Regions from separate parts of the Homo sapiens genome. Here region 2 is linked to region 1. Evidence: promoter capture Hi-C in human tissues and cell types (Jung and others, 2019). All regions are on one chromosome and are shown on one strand. The core of a region is centred on a gene start or on the middle of the fragment in contact, and the rest is flanking DNA. Distances in the headings are between cores, read along the strand shown. Region 1 holds the start of IL17REL (interleukin 17 receptor E like). Region 2 overlaps MOV10L1 (Mov10 like RNA helicase 1).

Evidence for each region. The method cuts DNA at HindIII sites, captures the fragments that hold promoters and counts their contacts. A contact is called where the count stands out against the background at its distance.
Region 2: a fragment that was not itself captured here is called in contact with the fragment with the promoter of IL17REL in region 1 in 2 of the 25 tissues and cell types used here (H1 embryonic stem cells and IMR-90 fibroblasts).

What each region holds. Positions count from the first base shown.
Region 1 is chr22:50,009,727-50,015,006 of GRCh38, forward strand. IL17REL (interleukin 17 receptor E like) reads right to left here and starts at 3,039. Exons shown (of 15, transcript NM_001371417.1): 1 at 2,819-3,039. The coding sequence starts at 2,920. RefSeq lists silencers at 1,030-1,349, 1,360-1,409 and an enhancer at 2,924-3,524. The HindIII fragment of the contact is 6,785 bases long and covers 154-5,280 here.
Region 2 is chr22:50,096,684-50,101,963 of GRCh38, forward strand. MOV10L1 (Mov10 like RNA helicase 1) reads left to right here. Exons shown (of 27, transcript NM_018995.3): 3 at 2,760-2,919. Among named protein-coding and RNA genes, the nearest start is that of MOV10L1, 9.3 kb to the left of the region's middle. The HindIII fragment of the contact is 9,728 bases long and covers 1-5,280 here.

The DNA of each region.
Region 1 (5,280 bases), core at 1,789-4,288:
GGGCCCACTTCTGTTCCTTGAATTGTGGAGCGGGCATTACCGGTGGCTACACCTCCTTCTAAATATTTTTTATTTTGGAATATGTTTAGATTTACAGAGAGTTTACCCAGGATCCCCTCATCTCAACAGTTTCCCGTGCATCTGCAAAACCTGGGGAGCCACATGGGTGGCGGCAGTCAGTGACCCTCAGTCTGGTGTGGAATCGGCGGCAGTCAGTGACCCTCAGTCTGGTGTGGAATCGGCGGCAGTCAGTGACCCTCAGTCTGGTGTGGAATCACGTGCTACTAGTGAACTGTTTTCTGTTCCAGGGTCCAGCGCAGGACCCCACCCTGCAGATGGCCTCTGAGTCTTCGTTCTCACCCCACCGTCTCTACCCATTTGCCGACCACCCCAATAACTCCCCAGAGACTGCCGTGAGTGACCCTCCTCCGCCTGCCATGGCCACGAAACCCGCCGCCCGTGGGCGGAGTATACAGGCTGGACCCAGCGTCCTGATGGAAGCCCCGGCCTCGGCCCCTGGTGGGGAGCAGGGCCTCAAACGAGGGGCCGGCGGAGCTGACCCCAGGCTGCTGAGGGCTCCGCCCAGGCAAAAGGGGCCGGGCTCACCCGGGGCAGCCTCTGGGGAACGGGATCCGAGCAGGCCTCAGGTGGGCAGGCGAGGGCAGCCCAGACCAGCCCGGGCACAGAGGGAGCGGCGGAGGCAGCGTGGGGAGGCCCAGTGAGGCCGCCTGTGTGGAACTGCAGGGGGGCAGTGGCGTGGGTCCCCGGGCCTCCCTCCCGCCAGGTGCCCTGAAGCCCCTCTGGGCGCCCACTGTGGCCTGGACTCCCCGCATCCACCTTCAGGAGAGAAAGAATCCCCGCTGGGGGCTCGGAGGCCGGGGTGGGCTGGAGAGGCGAAGGGCGTCTGCTCTCTCTCCTGACTTCCTGGACTCTGAAGCCCACCCAGGGCTGGCCCCGTGGCCCGAGTGTCTGGGGCTGCAGGAGAAGCCGCTGTCGGGGGCGCGGAACGTCGCGCGGTTCTGCCCCGCCCCTGCCCCACGGCACGGGGAGCGGGACCCGGGCGCGCTGGGGGGAAGGTGGGGGGAGCGGGGGCGGGGGGGGGCTGAGCCCGGGCGCTGGGCGCCTCCCCCGCACGGGGTTTTCCGTCGTGCTTCTCGGGGCTTCCCAGCGGCCGGCGTCGGGGGGTGTGCAGGGAACCCCCAGGGCGGCTGCTCGCGGCCCCACCCCGCCCAAGCTCCCCTGCATGCGGCCCAGCCTCCCGCCGTCACCCGCGCGGGTCCCCCCCCAGGGCGCGGCTGTAGCCCCAGCCTCCCCTCCCTGGCTTCCCCCCGCGGGCAGGGGCTCCCGCGCCCCCTCGCAACCACCGCCCTGTCCAAGGCTGCCCAGGCAGCGCCCCTACACCCACCTCCAGCTTCCCGCTCCTCTTGTCACCCCTTGACCCCTCCTGCTCAACCCTCCCCACCCCATCTTCCATGAGACCCTCCCTCAGCCCCGCCAAACCCCTCCTCTCCTCTCCCCTCCAGCACTTCCCCTCCTTCCTGGCCTCTTCCACCCGCCTCAGCCCCTGCCCTTGCCCCTGCCCCTTTCCTTGGAGTACTGAGGGTTCAATCTTGGTCCCCACCCATTCCCCAGGATCACCTGGCCGTCCTAGCGTGGACAGCGCGGTCACACCTCGGACCGGGAGGCTGCCTGCATACCCCGCAGCCGCCTCAGCAAAGCTTTCCAGCTTGCACTTCAAGGCCGCCTCCCCCCATGTCTCCCAACTCAGGGACCATTTCCTCCCAGAGGCAAAAGTCGATTCTGAGGTCTCATCTCTCGCTTCTCCTTCCCCCTCCTAGCCAGGATCCCCAGGCCTGCCCCCTCCCTGTTTTCCATCTCCACTGCAGGGTGGCATCCGGTGGACACCCCTCCCACCTGAACCCGCCCATCTCCCCTGCTGCCACCGGTTCCCACGCATCCCAGCCTGCTTTCTTCCTTGTTCCACGAATGCCCTGTGGATCTGAGCCTGCCCATGGCACCCAGCACTCCAGCCCTTGCTGCTCCCCTCCCTGAGCTGAGCCCTCTGCTGGACCCGTCTCAGGCCCTGTGGAGCTGCTGGATGTCCCCGCAAGTGTCCCCTGAGGTGACCAGGCCACCACCCTAAAGGCACATCTTGCTAACTGCTGTCCCCATGCCAGGAACGGTGCACCCAGCAGGTCCTCAGTGAGTCCTCCCTTTCCGGGACACCTTCTGTGCCCTTTCCATGCCTGTGTCCCCACTGTGCCCGGCCAGCCTTGGGCACCGGGGCCCCTTCCTGGGATGCTGGGTACACTTCCTGCTGCAGGTGCTGATGAAGCGCCCTCTCCTGTAAGGCTGAGTGAGTGGGCTGTGCAGTGAGAGCCCTCCACCCCAACCCAGCCACCTCCACTGCCAACATCTCATTCTCAGCACGTTCTCCGAGTGTTTCCTTGGCAGGTGTCTACACAAGCCCAGGTGTTGCGGGCTCCCGATGGCTCAGAGCAGCCGAGCGGGGTGGGGTGGGAGCCCCGGATGGGCTTGCGGGCTGCCCTAGATTCTAACACAGCCTCCTTGGAGGTCACAGGTGGGTCCGAGGTGGGCTCACCCTGCCTTGAGCTTCCAGCAAACACTTCCCGGAGCAGCTCGGCAGGGTCAGGCCAGGTCTCCCATCCTTCTTTCACCAGCGCTGCCCTCGGACCCCCCAGGGCCCTGCAACCCCTCACCTGCTGATGTGCTGAGAGCGTCAGGCCAGACCCACCTGAGGAGAAACCAGGGCCTTATCTGCCACAGTGTAGGGGCCTAGGAGGAGGCAGGAGCTTACCTGAGAACAGGAGAGGCCACATTCTGTAATCCGGGGGATGGCCAGGCTCTGGAAAGTGCCCCAGGTCAGGCCCAAGAACGCGAGTGCTTGCCCAGCCAGCATCTGGCTGTGCAGTGAGAGCTCCCACTGGTAAGCGTGGATGTGAGTGGGGCAAGTTTGCAGGATGCCCTGTGGCAGCGGCTCCAGGCTGACCCTGCAGCTCCAGCCCCAAAGACAAACAGAGGGTGGAGGCTGCTCTTCACAGCTGGAGCGAGCGAGACACTCCCCCTCCCGGCAAAACAGGGCTCGCTTCACAGACAGCAGCCCGGGAGACTTTCCACCGCCTGGGGCCAGAAGACTGTGGCCAGACACTTGTGGAGTTTCTAGGTTTCCAAAGGAAGCATCCAGAAACCTTGGGGCCTTTGGGGTCCGAGGACACCCTAATGGGGTTCCCCACAGGGCGGCCACTGGTGCAGAGATGGCTCCAGGCCGGCGGGATAGGCTGCCGCCGGCGTGCACCTCCCTCAGGCATGCATGAGGCCAGGAGGGTAGACAAGGGCCCTGGAAAGCTGGCTGGGCTGGCAGAGGGGTGGAATCTGTCCTGGGCACTCATACCCCAGAGCCCCTGGCTTCAGCCCCAGCCCCTAAGGGGAGCCCTCTCCTAAGACCTGAGATTCCACCCAAGTCCCTGGCCTCCACCTCCCCTCAAGATGCAAAAGGCCACCTCCCCTGTGTGGTCCTCCCTATGAGCCCCCCCCCACTCCGGAGGGCACCCCCCGAGGCTGGGAACTCTGGGGCCCAGCCTCTGCTCAGGGAGCCGTTCTGTGTCATCTTCTTATTTGGAGCATCAAATGCATAGGAAAGTTTCTGGGCAGAAGCTTACTGCTTCCCATTTGCCTCCAGCCAGGGCAGGGGGTTGGAGAGAACCAGGGTGCAGTTCTTGGGTCCTCCTGGCTCCTCCCTTCCTGGACAGGCACAGAGGCTTCTGCACCTGCCTCAGGTTCTGGGAGGGCACTGCCCCACGTGTGTGTGTGTGTGTGTGTGTGTGTGTGTGTGTGTGTGTGTGTGTGTGTCTGTGTGTGTGTGGGGGGGGGATGGCGGGAGTTAATAGCTGGGGAGCCTGGGAGTGTCTAGCTGGGGTGTTCTGCCTGGAATACCCACAGGACACCCCAAGTGTGGAGGGCGGCACCACCCCCAGGCTGGGAGAGGCTGTGGGCCTCACACTGTGGGCTCGGGTAGTCAGGAGGGAGCTTGAGAAACAAGCTCTGGGGTTCGGTCCCAGGGGAGGGAAGGCGGCAGGGGCTGCTGTGACCGTGAAGTCCTCCCTCCCTCCCACCACCCCGCACTGCCCACCTCCCTGCCTCCTGGGCCAGCACCTCGACCCTGCCCCCGCCTGGCCTAGAGCCCTCCATGGGCTGGAACTTATGCACTCACTGCTGGGCAGAGTAGATGGGGCTGAGCCCGCCCCCTGCAGCAGCGTGCCTGTGGCCACAATGCCCTGGAGAGAGTGGCTAGTGCCAGCCTCCATGCCACGGCATGGTCAGCAGCAGGCAGGCACATTTGGGGGTGGCTCAGGACGGGCCACTGTCATCCCCTATCCCAGGCTGGCTGAGCTGTAAGACAGATACTCCAGCTGGGCCTCGCCCCTCAGCCTGGCCTCCAGCCCTCCTTATACCAGGGGACGATGGGGGCTGCTGTACTGTGGCAGGGGTGTCCCAGACGATGTCCATGGGCACGGCCAGCAGGATCATTGGGAAAGGACAAATGTCCCTCCCCCATGGGCCCACTCACACCCAAACCTCTCTCCAGGCCTCTCTGGGACAGGCCCCCACCACGACACACCCGTTGCCTGAAGGCGCCATCCCAGCGTGCCGTGACGCAGGCAGGGGCTGCAGGTGGCCAGTAGTCGGTGATCTCGTGTAGGGACGGCCCACGGGGTGTGGCTGGTGCTGGTTCCAAGGCCCAGGGAAGGACAGTGGGGCCGGCCTCTGCCCTCTGCCCCAGGCCCCCGGCCACCCTCTCCAGCCTGAGGTCAGAGGGCTCCAGCCCTGTCTCTGAGGGCTGGGGGATTGGCCCTGCTCAGTATCCATGAAGAGCCAGGCCACGGGCTCCTGGGCGGGCCCCGGCCACCGAGATCACCCACCGCAGCTGGGCGAGGCCTGGGGTGGGGGTGGGGTCTTTCCAAGTCTGGGTCTCCAGGGCAGCACGGCCACACAGCCCAGTGACCATCGGTCGCCCAGAAGCCCAACGGTGAAGGGATCTGAGGGTCCAACCCCGGGGGCTCCCTCCGCGCCCGCGCTGGGCACCAGATGGGAGGAAACGGGGTGCGGAGACCCTGGGCGGCGCCGAGACTCGTCGGACGAACGCGGGAAGGAACGAACCAGCGTCCGCCCGGGACCCGGGCTGGAGCCTTCCCCAGAGCGGCTCGGAGGGTCCGGAGCGGGTGCGGGGGTGCTGGGCACGAGGTTCCCAAGAAAACCACG
Region 2 (5,280 bases), core at 766-3,265, 86 kb after region 1:
AGTTGTGAGGTAGTATCTCACTGTGGTTTTGATTTGCATTTCCCTAATGATTTGTGAGGGCATCTTTTCATGTGCTTATTGGCCATCTATATATCTTCTTTGGAGAAATATCTACTCAAATCCTTTGCCCGTTTTGAAATTAGGTTGTTTTCTTGTAGTAGGAATTCTTTATATATTCTGGATATTAATCTCTCATCACATACATGATTTGCAAATACTTTCTCTCATTTTATCAATTGTCTTTTCACTTTCTTCATGGTATCCTTTGATGCACAGATGTTTTAAATTTTGGTGGAAGTCTAATTTGTCTCTTTTATTGCATGTACTTCTGATGTCACACTCAAGATACCATTGACTAATCCAAGATTATGAAGATTTTTTTCTACCAAGAGTTTTATAGTTTTTGCTTTTAAATTAAAGTCTTTGATTCATTAAAAAAAATTTTTTGAGACAGGATCTCACTTTGTTGCCCAGGCTGGAGTGCAGCAGCACAGTCACAGCTCACTGCAGCCTCAACCTCCCAGGCTGAAGTGATCCTTCCACCTTAGCCACCTGAGCAGCTGGGACTACAGGTGTGTGCTGCCTCACCCAATTTTTGTATTTTTTGTAGAGATGGGGCCTCTCTATGTTGCCCAGGCTGGTCTCGAACTCCTGGGCTCAAGTGATCCGCCCATCCCACGCCTTTCCAAATGCTGAGATTATAGGGGTAAGCCACCACGCCTGGCCTCTTTAATCCATTTTGAGTTAATTTTTGTGTTTGGTGTAAAACGAGAGTCTAACTTTATTATTTTGCCCATGGTTATTTTCCCAGCACTATTTTTTTTTGAGACTGCACAATTGCAGTTTATTGAATGGTCCTTGTCAAAAATCAATTGACTGCACATGCAAGGGTTTATTTCTGGGTCTCTTTACTATTCCATTGGTTTATATTTCTGTCCTTACACTGGTGCCACACTAGTTTGATGACTGTAACTTTGTAGGAAGTTTTGAAATCAGGAGGTATGAAACCTTCAATTTTGTTACTCCTTTTCAAGACCATTTTGCCTATTCATGGTCCCTTGAGATTCCATTAGAATTTTAGATGAGTTTTTCTATTTATATAAAAATAGACCCATAGGACTTTGATAGGGATTGCGTTGCATTTGTTGGGTTTTTTTGTTGTTTGTTTGAGACAGAGTCTTGCTCTGTCACCCAGGATGGAGTGCAATGATGTGATATTGACTCATTGCAACCTCCGCCTCCCTGGTTCAAGCAATTCTCATGCCTCAGCCTCCCAAGTAGCTGGGACTGCAGGTGCTTGCCACTACACCCAGCTAATTTTTTTTGTATTTTTAGTAGAGATGGGGTTTCACCATGTTGACCAGGCTGGTCTTGAACTCCTGACCTCAAGTGATCCACCTGCCTCAACCTCCCAAAGTGCTGGAATTACAGGCATGAGCTACCACACCCAACCTGAATTTGTGTAATAGATCACTTTGGGTAGTATTGTCATCTTAATAATTAAGTCTAAGATTGTCATCTTAATAATAATTAAGTATTAAGATTAACATCTTAATAATAATTATTAAGATTAACATCTTAATAATCACATAATCACTTTGAGTAGTATTATCATCTTAATAATTAAGTCTTAAGATTGTCATTTTAATAATATTAGGTTTTCCAATTCATGAACGCGGTTGTCTTGCTGTTTATTGAGGTATTTAATTCATTCATTAGTGTCATTTTACGTGTCTTCCATCTCCTTAGTTAGGTTACTAAGTGTTCTGAGGAATTAACCTATTAACCTAACAGTGCTGTTATAAATGGAATTGTTTTCCCTTTCTTTGGATCATTTTTCTTGATTTCCTTTTTGGATTTTTCATTGCAAATGTATGGAAATCTGATTTTTGTATGTTGACTTTGTGTCCTGTGCTGGATTCATTTATTAGCTCTAACCATTTTTTGTTTCATTTACGTGTGTGGAATCTTTAGAGTTTTCCACAGATGAGATCCTACCATCTGTGAATAAAGATAATTGAAATTTGAAAGTCTTGAAGTAAGCATGGGCATCCTTGCCTGGTTCCTGATCTTAGGGGAAAGCTTTCGGCCTTTCACCATTGAGTGTGGTGTTTGTTGTGAGATTTTTGTTTATGGCCTTTCTCGTGTTGAAGAGATTTCCTGCGATTCCTAGTTTATTGAGTGTTTGCATCATAAAAAGTGTTGATTTTGTCAAATGCTTTTTGTGCATCAGTTGAGATCATCGTGATTTTTTCCCTCATCTTATCAATGTAATATGTTGACTGATTTTCATATGTTGAAACACTTTTGCATTCTGGGATAAACCCCACTTAGTCATGGGGTATAATCCTTTTAATATGCTGCTGCATTTGGTTTGATAATATTTCATTGAGGATTTTTGCATCAGTGTTCATAAGGGATTGCTATAGACTCAATGTTGGTGTCCCCCAAAATACGTATGTTGAAATCCTGACCCCAGTGGAATCTTATTAGGAGGCTTTGGTGGGTGACTGGGTCACAAGGGCAGAGCCCTTATGAAACATACCCCAGAGAACCCCTTTGCCCTTTCTGCCATGTGAGGACACAGCAGGAAGACACCGACGGTATACCAGGAAGAAGGCCCTCACCAGACCCGGAATCTGCCAGGGCCTTGATCTTGGACTTGCAGCCCTAATGGTCTCAGACAGGCATGCCAGCCTGTAGTTTGCTTTTCTTGTAGTTCTCGTATTATGGTTTAGAGCGGTGTGTTTGTTTTACAGGTAGAAGCTGTCTCTGATAAGTGGGAAGACGACAGCAGAAACCATGGGAGTCCCTCAGACTGCGGCCCCCGAGTGTTGATTGGCTGTGTGACTTCCCTGGTGGAGGGCGCAGGCTGTATCAGTCAGACCACCTACTTCTCTCTGGAGAGTGTGTGCGAAGGTATGCTCAGGGGTCTGTGTTCCACATTGAAAATTAGGTTTTGTCTTTTAAAGAATTGTTATGGACCAGGCACGGTGGCTCATGCCTATAATCCCAGCACTTTGTCAGGCTGAGACAGGAGGATCGCTTGAGCCCAGGAGTTGGAGGCTGCAGTGAGCTATGATCCAGCCACTACACTCCAGCCTGGGTGACAGAACACAACCCTGTGTCTATATTTGTGATGGCTACACACAACATTGAAGGGATCAGTTTTGGGCATGCTTTGTTTGTTGAGAGGGTTTCGGGATTAGAGTAGCTTCTCCAGGTGCTGGCTTCACACAGAGGCTCTTGGATATTGAGTGGACTATGGGAGAGGGCACCAGGTCACTGTTTTGTTTTTTTTGTTTTTGTTTTTGTTTTTGTTTTTCGAGATGGAGTCTCACTCTGTTGCCCAGGCTGGAGTGCAGTGGTATGATCTCAGCTCACTGCAACCTCTGCTTCCTGGGTTTGATTGATTCTCCTGCCTCAGCCTCCTGAGTAGCTGGGATTACAGGTGTGCACCACCATGCCCAGCTAATTTTTTGTATTTTTAGTAAAGATGGGGTTTCATCAGGTTGGCCGGGCTGGTCTCGAACTCTTGACCTTAGGTGATCCACCTGCCTCGGCCTCCTAAAGTGCTGGGATTACAGGCATGAGCCACCACACCCAGCCAGGTCACTGTTTAAACTTGTGCTTTTATGTGTTTTGTGTTCATTTGTTAAATGCAGTCAGTAATTTCTGGGTAGTTGTTGCTTCCATATAATTATAGTGTTATGATCTAAGTTAGTGTTACTGGCATGCTGAGGTACTATTTAAAGTACTTTAGATGTTTTAAAATAGGGCTTGGGGATGACATTGTACGTTTCCTAAAGTATATATCCTTTTTCTTTCTTTCTTTCTTTCTTTTTTTTGAGATGGAGTCTCACCCTGTCGCCCAGGCTGGAGTGCAGTGGCACGATCTCAGCTTACTGCAACCTCCGCCTCCTGGGTTCAGGCGATTCTCCTGCCTCAGCCTCCTGAGACTACAGGTGCCCACCACCACAGCAGGCTAACTTTTTGTGTCTTTAGTAGAGACAGGGTTTCACCATGTTGGCCAGTCTGGTCTTGAACTCCTGACCTTGTGATCTGCCCGCCTTGGCCTCCCAAAGTGCTGGGATTACAGGCGTGAGCCACCACTCCCGGCTTTATATATCCATTTTTTATTGCATTTGTTTTTGGCTGATCAAAGGATTTGTTTTTATACCTAAAGAAAGAATATGTCGATGTCATTGACTGAGCTGAACTCAGCAGCGGTTTACTCTACTCCTGCTGCCTATGGTGGTGAAGACGGAGCTGGACTCCATACTCAGGTCTGTTTCTTCTTTCCCAGGAGAAACAGACCTGTGCATACATTGTGGTAGGGCAGGAATTGGAAAAGCTGCCTGGGGAAGTGGCTTCTGAGCTGAAGTCCATTTGCACAGCCCACAGCACTGCCTGTTGGAAGATGAATAGAAGTTTTCTGCTTTAAGCTGGGGGGTGGGAGGTCTGGGGGGTAGCTCTGCCCACCAGGAAGCTGCTGTCTCACTCTTTTTCACCTTGGTTTTTATGTGTATGTGTGTTTTTGTTTTTGTTTTGAGACGGAATCTTCCTCTGTTTCCCAGGCTGGAGTACAGTAGCACAATCTTGGCTTACTTCAAGCTCCGCCTTCCAGGTTCATGCCATTCTCCTGCCTCAGCCTCCTGAATAGCTGGGACTACAGGTGCCCGCCACCACACCTGGCTAATTTTTTGTATTTTTAGTAGAGACGGGGTTTCAATGTGTTAGCCAGGATGGTCTCGATCTCCTGACCTTGTGATCCACCTGCCAAAGTGCTGGGATTACAGGCATGAGCCACTGCGCCTGACCTTTTGTGGGTTTTGTTTTTTTTTTCTTTGTTTGAGACAGAGTTTCGCTCTTGTTGCCCAGGCTCGAGTGCAGTGGTGGCTCACTGTAACCTCCACCTCCTGGATTCAAGCAATTCTCTTGCCTCAGCTTCCTGAGTAGCTGGGACTACAGCTGTGTGCCACCACACCTGGCTAATTTTTGTATTTTTAGTAGACACGGGGTTTCGCCATGTTGGTCAGGCTGGTCTCGAACTCTTGACCTCAGGTGATTCACCCACCTCGGCCTCCCAAAGTGCTGGGATTATAGGCATGAACCACTGTGCCCAGCCTTGACCTTGGTTGTTAACCCTGGGATCCCCAAGATGAAATTGATAGGTGTCTATTGGGATTTTAGAATCTCTGTGCTGCCAGAGAAACGCTCAGTTCTGGGGAAAGGCGCCTATAATCATGGAGGCCCCTCAACCCTGCTAACAGGAAGCCC